Linked DNA regions of Homo sapiens: regions 2 and 3 are each linked to region 1. Evidence: promoter capture Hi-C in 16 types of primary human blood cells and fetal thymus (Javierre and others, 2016). All regions are on one chromosome and are shown on one strand. The core of a region is centred on a gene start or on the middle of the fragment in contact, and the rest is flanking DNA. Distances in the headings are between cores, read along the strand shown.

Region 1 (2,545 bases), core at 28-2,527:
AGGGGCAAAGGTCACAGGTGAGGCGAAGGGGAGGGATGGGGACACCCTGGGGCCAGCCAGCGGTGAGCGCCCCAGGCTAAGACAAGGCTGACCCCACTGCCGAGAGAGGGCGGGCAGGGGGTGAGATTGAGGGCTGGGTTCATTTTATTGTATTTTGCCTCCAGCGTGGGGCCAGAGACGCTCTTTCCCCCGGGAGACAAAAGGCCTGCAGTTGTGGCGTCCTGCCCCGCTGGGAGGGCGTTTCGCCCCCAGGACTCGGTGTCCCGAGGTTGAGGCTACTGGTCACCCTGGCTTCAGAAAGCGAAGAATTCAGGAACCTCTGATCACCCCACCCTGACTCCTGATCATTCAGTTGGGGCGTCCCCTCAAACCCACCAGCAAGGAGCTCAGAGTTGGTGAGTTCAGAGCTGTATCAAGTCTTGACGGGCTCCCTCCCTCCCATTTCCCACCTCTTTGGGCCCCCAGATCCTCACACCAGCACCAACTCCCTGTAAACCCAACTACCTGCTGGAAAGGAGTTATAGGCCCGGCCTGGGGGCCTGAGGAGGACGGCGGCGGCTGGAGACGTCTGCACGGGGCGGAACTGGAAGGGGAGGAAGAAACCTGTGCCTAGCACTTGGCAGACCCACTTTGCCAAGCCTCGGAACCAGATACGGTTACTGGGGGCTTCTCAGAGCGGCAGGAAGGTAGAGTAAGAACCGGACACCGGGGCTCTGACATTACACAGAAAAGGTCAGAATTCCTCCCTTCAAGTCACCCTAGGCCGGTTCCCGGGGAGCCTCACTGGAGGAATTTCAGAGGGTGTAAGACGAGGGAGAAGATGAGAAATAGGGCGGACTCTGGCCCTCGGAGGCCAGAGAAAAGGCGAGACTCCAGAGAGGCGCCGGACCCGAGGCAGACATTCCCATACAGCCGGGACTCCGAGAGCAGCCGTGGGCGACCTGGGGGCCGGGGACTCGGCGGATCCGGCCCATTCATCAAAGGAAGGCACTGGGACAAAGTTGGCCCCCTCCCCTTCTCCCCCAGCCCCCAACTCGCCGGGATCGGCTCCCTCTCTTTTCACGGCGGTTCAAATTCTCCCCCAAAACGAGGTCGAGCCGGGGATTAGAAAAGAGGGAAAAAAATATTCGTTGGCGATTTCTTTTCGTTATTGGTCCTCCGCTCCCTTGCGCCCTGGCCCCCTTCCCTCCTCATGAATAAAAGAAAAGTCCGAACCTATCAGATCGCGCTCACTGCCTCCTCCTCCTCCTCCTCCTCCTCCTCCTCGTACTTCGGTGAACACTTTTGCACAACTTACCCAGCTGATCACTCGCGCCCCCTCGCTTTTCCATTTCTCTTTCCCCAACCCCGTCACCCCCTGTCTCCTCCGTCCAGCCCTGAAACCCGAGGAGGCTCCTTCTTCCGTCTGTCCCCGGGTCTCCTAGGGGACGGGGCTGTGAAAGCTGGTGTGGAGGGAGAAGCGAGTGTGGTCCGGAGAAAGAAGGCGTGGAGAAGAGGGAGGGAGCGAGAGCGAGAGAATAAATATATAAATAAATACGAGAACGAAATCCACTCCGCAGTCTCCGGGCTCGGAAACTTTGGCCCCGAGCGCCAGAGCGCCAGAGCGCGAGAGCGCGGCGCTCGCCACTCTGAGGCTGGCGGCCTCGATTCCGGCCGCGTTCCCCCGGCCCCCCTCCGCCGCGGGGCCTGGTCTCCGGGTTCTGCCAGGCGCATCAGCCCGCACAACTTCTGGCCGAGGCCAGCCGGCAGAGGCGGACTTGGGGTTGGAGTGTTTGTTTGTTTGAACTTCCTCGTCGTCGCCACCTTCCCTCCCCCCAACCTCCACCCCACCTCACCCCCCTCCCCAGCTTCTGGACGCGTTTGACTGCAGCCAGGGGTGGGGGGTGGGGGTAGGGAGTGTGTGTGGAGGGGAGGGAGAAGAGGTTAAAAAAAAGAAGACGAAGAAGACGGAAAGAAAGAGATCGCAGCAGGGGTGAAGGGAGCGGACGGGAAGCGATTTTTGCCGACTTTGGATTCGTCCCCGGCGTGCGCAAGAATGGCGGCCCTTCCCGGCACGGTACCGAGAATGATGCGGCCGGCTCCGGGGCAGAACTACCCCCGCACGGGATTCCCTTTGGAAGGTAAGAACGCCCAGGCTGGCCTCGCCGCGACTCCGCCGCCCGGAACTCGGGGTCCTTGGAGAGGCTGCGGTCTCCAGGGGACGGTGGCGGCGCCGGCGATAGCAGAGGGATCCCGTTCTCTTCTGGGTCCCAGTCCGGGCGCGGAACCCAGGGAGTTTCTGGGACCCATACTTGTCCGCTTCTGCGTGGGTTTCACTGCCCGGCGGCCTTCGTTTCGCAGGTCGCTAGCTGCCGGTCTTTACCCGCAGGGCTGAAATTCTGGTAGATTTGGACTCCTAGTAAATATCAGGTCCTGGTGAATTTCAGCTCTTTCCACTATTTCCAGACACTTCTTCCCTGACAGTTTCTCGGCTCTCCTGGCTCGCTGGCTGCCAGCTTTCTACTCTTGTTTTGAATTATTTTTTCCACCCCCGGGATTGGTCTTC
Region 2 (2,545 bases), core at 33-2,532, 210 kb after region 1:
ATCTTATTGCCACAAAGAGCCTATTATGTCTGTCTTATGATCTCGATTTTACCATGAATGCTGGTTAGTTGTGCCTAAACCCCAAAATGGAAGGGACATAACAAGGCATATCTGACTTCCCTTCTCTTCATGACCTAGGACTCTGTTTTTAAGGTTTCTCTGGTCCCCTTGGCCAAGAGGGGGTCCTTACCATAAGGTGCGGGATGGGAGAAAAACAGAGTCAAGGATGACTCAGGTTTCTGGTCTGAGTGATGGAGATGCCACCTGTGAGACCCGACCACACCTTCCTCCTTACCTATGAGGCTCAGCTCCAGCCTCTGCCTTCCCCTTGTCACCCTTTCCTTCCCCCTCTGCAGCCCCAGCCACTGGAGGAAATTCTGGCCCATTTCACCTGGTCTGGAGCCAGGTCGCCCGATTGCAGCCAACTCCCCACAAAGGACACTCCCACCAGGTCCAGTGCCAGCCCTGCAAATGGCTCCAGGGATTGCCCTGCCCAGCCAACAAGTGCTCAAGGCTTCAAGCAGCAATGGGCCGTAGGTGACCACAACAGGTGAGAAAAGAGCTGCACAGAGAACAGAGCTGAACCTCTCCTGCAGGAAGTCCCAGACCAGAAAGACAGCAGCCAGGTCCCAAGCGTTAGGACCAACGGTATGAAGCTCAAGAGGCTATGGGAGCAGAGAATCCCCTCTGCCACAAGGCAGGAAAGGCTTCCCGGGGGAGGAGGCATTTGACCCGGGCCCTGAAGGATAAATACAAGCTTCCCATAGGAAGATCAAGAAGGAACATCTTGAGCAAAGGTGTGAAATCAGGAACCATGTTTGGGGACAGCCAGGAGTCCAGTGGGGCCACTGGGAGATGAGGCTGGGAAGATGAGCAGGATTCAGATTTTGTGAGGCTTTCCACACACAAAGGAGGTCAGGCATGACTGTCCAGGAAGTCCTCACTTAATGCTGTAGTGGATAGGTTTTTGGAAACTGCGACTTTAAGCAAAAGGACGTACAGCGGGTCCTCAAATAACGTTGTTTCATTATAACATATTATAATACGGATGAGAACAAAATATTGGTTTCATTATATGCCTTGTCCTTTTATCTAAAGTCAGAGTTTCCAAGAATGTAGCAACAACGTTAATGAGGACTTACTGCCCAGGCACTGGGGAGCCACAGGAGGTTCCTGAGGCAGGAGGGCTCCTGACTGTGTCAGGTTTAGGGGACATGACTCAGGCGGCCAGAGACTGTGGATTTGGGAAGGATGACAGGAACCAAAGAAAGGAAAGCTCGAAAAGTGGTCGAAGAGAGGGGCTTGCAAATCAGAGTGTCCAAAGGAAAGGACCGGGATGGTGGCCAAAATCATGTCCTAAGAGCACCTGGGACCTTCAGACCAAAGAAGAGATGACGTGAGGAGAACACAATTGCTGTAACCCCTCCCAAATCCCCCCTTTGAGCCCAAATCCTAGCTCGCTCACTTAAGAGCTGGGTGACCCTGGGCAAGTTAATCAGCGTCTCTGAGCTTCAGTTTCCTTTACAGTAGTACAGGGATGCTTTGGGTTGCAGAGGACAGAAAATCCAACTCAAGTTAACTTAAGCAATAAGGGATATTAACCGACTCATGAAATGGAAGTTTTCAGAGGCAGGGCTGCCGTCAGGTGAGATCCAATAGCTCACAAAGAGTTTTAAGGGCTGAGTTTTTCTATCCTTCCTCTTTGCCTTCTATAAGGTTCAGCTTTCCCCTGAGGCTGACTCGCCTCGTGATCCCACAAGAACTGCCCCCAGCTCTTTGCTCTAGGGCCTTTCAAGTTATTATACAAAGAAGCTTGGTTCCAGCAAAAGTTCTGAGAGTCTCTCTGATTGGACCAACCAAGGTCATGTGCCCACCTCTGAGCCAATCACTGCAGACTGGGAAGAACAGTGCCGATTGGCTTGGCCTAGGTCACTTGCTGCAGCCCCTGGAGCCAGGAGATGGCCTCATCTTCCCTGGAACCATATAGGGGCTGCCAGGTAGGGCGGAGGGAAGGGGTGTGGGAGGCATCAGCCTGTGTCCACCAACGTCACTGGTACCCATGGGGCATGGTCATTCTGGGGACTGGAGATGATGTGTGAAAAGTACCTGGCACACAGCAGGTGCTCCTTGAAAGGCAATTCTTTTTGTTATTGTATATAAAAGGCATCATGAGAAAGAGGAATTCGATTTTGTGGGGAAGGGTGAGACAAGATCTTGCTCTGTCGCCCAGGCTGCAATGCAGTGGCACAATCACTGCTCACTGTAGCCTTGAACTCCTGCACTCAACAGATCCTCCTGCCTCAGCTTCTTGAGTAGCTGGGACTACAAGCGTGCACCACCATGCCCAGCTAATTTTTACTTCTGTAGAGATGGGGTCTTGCTACATTGCCCAGGTTGATCTCAAACTCCTGGCCTCAAGCAATCTTCCCACGTTGGCCTCCCAAAGTGCTGAGATTACAGGTGTGAGCTACCATGCTTAGGCTAGGAATTAGATTTAATTCATGGTCCCAAAGGATAAAACTAGTGTCCATAAACTGAAATCCCA
Region 3 (2,545 bases), core at 25-2,524, 180 kb after region 1:
ACCTTGACCAGGTCAACAGAGCTTTTCTTCCTCATTAACTTGTCAGCTACCAATGCACTGCCTCAAATACCCTGGACTGATCTATCTCCCCCTGCCGCAACCTCAGAAAGTCCCAAATCTCTTCAGCCAGGTGTTCTGTAGACAAGGGTCCACACTGGCCAGCTCTGGGCCCACGGCCATTTTATTTGAAGAGTGAGGGTTCTTGCACCATAGCTGTGGGAAATTTGCATTAAAATTCGCATTTCTAGCCTCTCTTAAAATAAACGTTCAGGCTACAGAGTTCCCCATCGTCCCTGCCTGAGCAAAAACCCTGTGTCGCACATTATTCTGGGTATGTCACATATATCAAGTCCTTTAGTCCTTATAACAATGGGAATTCCTATTCCATCAACAAAGAAACCAGACGCAGAGAGTGAGCTGGCACACAAAGATCATCTTCACAGCCTGGAAATGGCAGAAGTGGAACTCAAACCCAAGTCCAGTGACTCCAAAAACTCGGAGCTCCTACTGCTTCTCGTTCAAGGCAATGGGGTTACTGCCTCACAGCCCTGCAAACTGAAGTCTCAAATTCTCTCCAGTTCACATGGTTTTCTAGTTGACCTCTCCTTTCCTCCTCGACAATTGGCATGGAGCTGAGCTTAGAGAAGCTTCCTCCCCGAGTCTCTCTCCCTCTGGACTGACTTCCTGGGAAATGTCCTAGGGTCCAGATTGAACCCCAGTTTCCCTTTATTACCCACACTGTCACCATGATAGTGAGACAAACGCCAAGGGTCTGGCTTTGTGGGCACACCATGGTCTAATCCAGCTCACCTTCCTCCTTCATCTTTCTCCCTTCTCCTCCTGTCATCCCATGTCCCCAGGAAAACTAAGCCACTCCCCGATTCCACAGCCAGTTGCTCTTTCCTACCGCCTTCCCCAGCTCACACCAGACCCCCTGTCGGAAATTCTCTCCTCACTCCATTTCCCCTGGCCCTCAATTGTGTCCTCCCCCATCCCAATCACATGTGACCTCCTGCTTTCTCTTAGGCATAGATTTTGGAGCCAGACAGACCTGGATATGAATCCAGCTCTGCCATGTGCCAGCTGGGTTACCCTTAGGCGATGCACTGTCCTTGCATTCCTCAACTTCCCCATCTGTAAAATGGGTTTTTTTGATAATTCATCTCATCCTCTCTCCAACTGCTATTAATTCAATGAGGACTCGATGGGATGATGTTTGCAAAGCACCTCCCACATAGTAGGTGCTGCCTGGCTTGCATTAGACCATTGTCAATGTCTCTTCTCTTATGCTCTGCACTTTAAGCACCCTGAAGGCAGAATCTTATTTTTGTGCACTTTTTTTTGCCCTGGGCCTAGTAGGCCACATGGCACGTAGCAAGAAGTTCATGCTTTGAGTATTGCAGGAAGAAACATGAGTCTCAGTGTTTCAGGGATTAGGCCCAAAGTGTCCTTGGCTCACTGACAACAGCAGGGGTGGGGTCCCAGCCTGGGAGTGTCAGGCAGACAGGCAGGTGGCTAGAGAGGAAATGTCACCTTTGAACTCAAGGCGATCTTGGTCATGTAGTCAGTCAGTCAATCACTAGCTTATTGAGCACCTATGATGTGCTGACGTTGTACTAGGAACAGGGGTTACAGGAGTAAACAGAACAGATGAAGTCTTCGCTCTCAGAATGTTTATATTTTAGGTCAGGGAGACGGATCATAAACTCAAAAGCAAAGAAGCAAGTGAGATGATTTCAGATGTTGCTAAGCACTATGAAGACAGTCCAGCCCAGTGATGTAATTGGAGATCAATGTCAGCAAAGGCCAGGCTGAATCGACAGGGAGACAGCAGTGCATAAATGTGGGGAAGAACAATCCAAGCAGAAGAAAGAGCACATGCAAAGGCCCTGGGGTGGGAACAAGCTTGGCGGGTTCAAGAAAAAGGAAGGAGGGCATTTGTGTCTGACACAACAAGAGGGTGACAAGAATAATGACGAGAGTTGTGGGAGATGAGATCAGAGCAGAGGGAGACAGGGCTGCGTGGGGGCCTATGGGCTGACTGAAAAGCCTACAGTTTCTTCTAAAATTGGAGGTGAGTGACACGATCTGATTCCCACTAGTGGAAGTGTCCCTGGCTGCTTTGGGAAGAATGAATTGCCTGGGTTGGGGCGGGAGCAAGGATGGAGGCAGAAACAAGCAAAGAGGCCGTAGGTATCCGAGCAAGAAAAGATTGCAGCCAGGCCGGGCGCGGTGGCTCACACCTGTAATCCCAGCACTTTGGGAGGCCGAAGTGGGAGGATCCCTTGAGCCCAGGAGTTCAAGACCAGCCTGGGCAATATGGTGAAACCCTGTCTCTACAAAAAATACAAAAATCAGCCAATCATGATGGCCCACGCCAGTGGTACCAGTTACTTAGGAAGCTGAGGTGGAGGATTGCTTGAGCCCAGGAGGTCAAGGCTGCAATGAGCCATGATAGCGCCACTGCACTCCAGTCTGGGTGATGGAAAGAGACTCTGTCTCAAAACAGACAAGAAAGCAGCCAGTTTCAACATGGTACCCATGG

What was found. Contacts are between HindIII fragments. The CHiCAGO score rates a contact against its expected background, and 5 or more counts as called.
Region 2: a fragment that was not itself captured here is called in contact with the fragment with the promoter of PAX7 in region 1 in 1 of 17 cell types (endothelial precursors); the score reaches 7.2 in endothelial precursors.
Region 3: a fragment that was not itself captured here is called in contact with the fragment with the promoter of PAX7 in region 1 in 1 of 17 cell types (naive CD4 T cells); the score reaches 5.3 in naive CD4 T cells.

The regions. Positions count from the first base shown.
Region 1 is chr1:18,629,569-18,632,113 of GRCh38, forward strand. PAX7 (paired box 7) reads left to right here and starts at 1,278. Exons shown (of 9, transcript NM_001135254.2): 1 at 1,278-2,120. The coding sequence starts at 2,036. RefSeq lists promoters at 962-1,747, 1,151-2,061, 1,785-2,061. The HindIII fragment of the contact is 4,552 bases long and covers 1-2,545 here.
Region 2 is chr1:18,834,961-18,837,505 of GRCh38, forward strand. No RefSeq gene overlaps it. Among named protein-coding and RNA genes, the nearest start is that of TAS1R2, 23 kb to the right of the region's middle. The HindIII fragment of the contact is 1,055 bases long and covers 756-1,810 here.
Region 3 is chr1:18,810,835-18,813,379 of GRCh38, forward strand. No RefSeq gene overlaps it. Among named protein-coding and RNA genes, the nearest start is that of TAS1R2, 48 kb to the right of the region's middle. The HindIII fragment of the contact is 1,258 bases long and covers 646-1,903 here.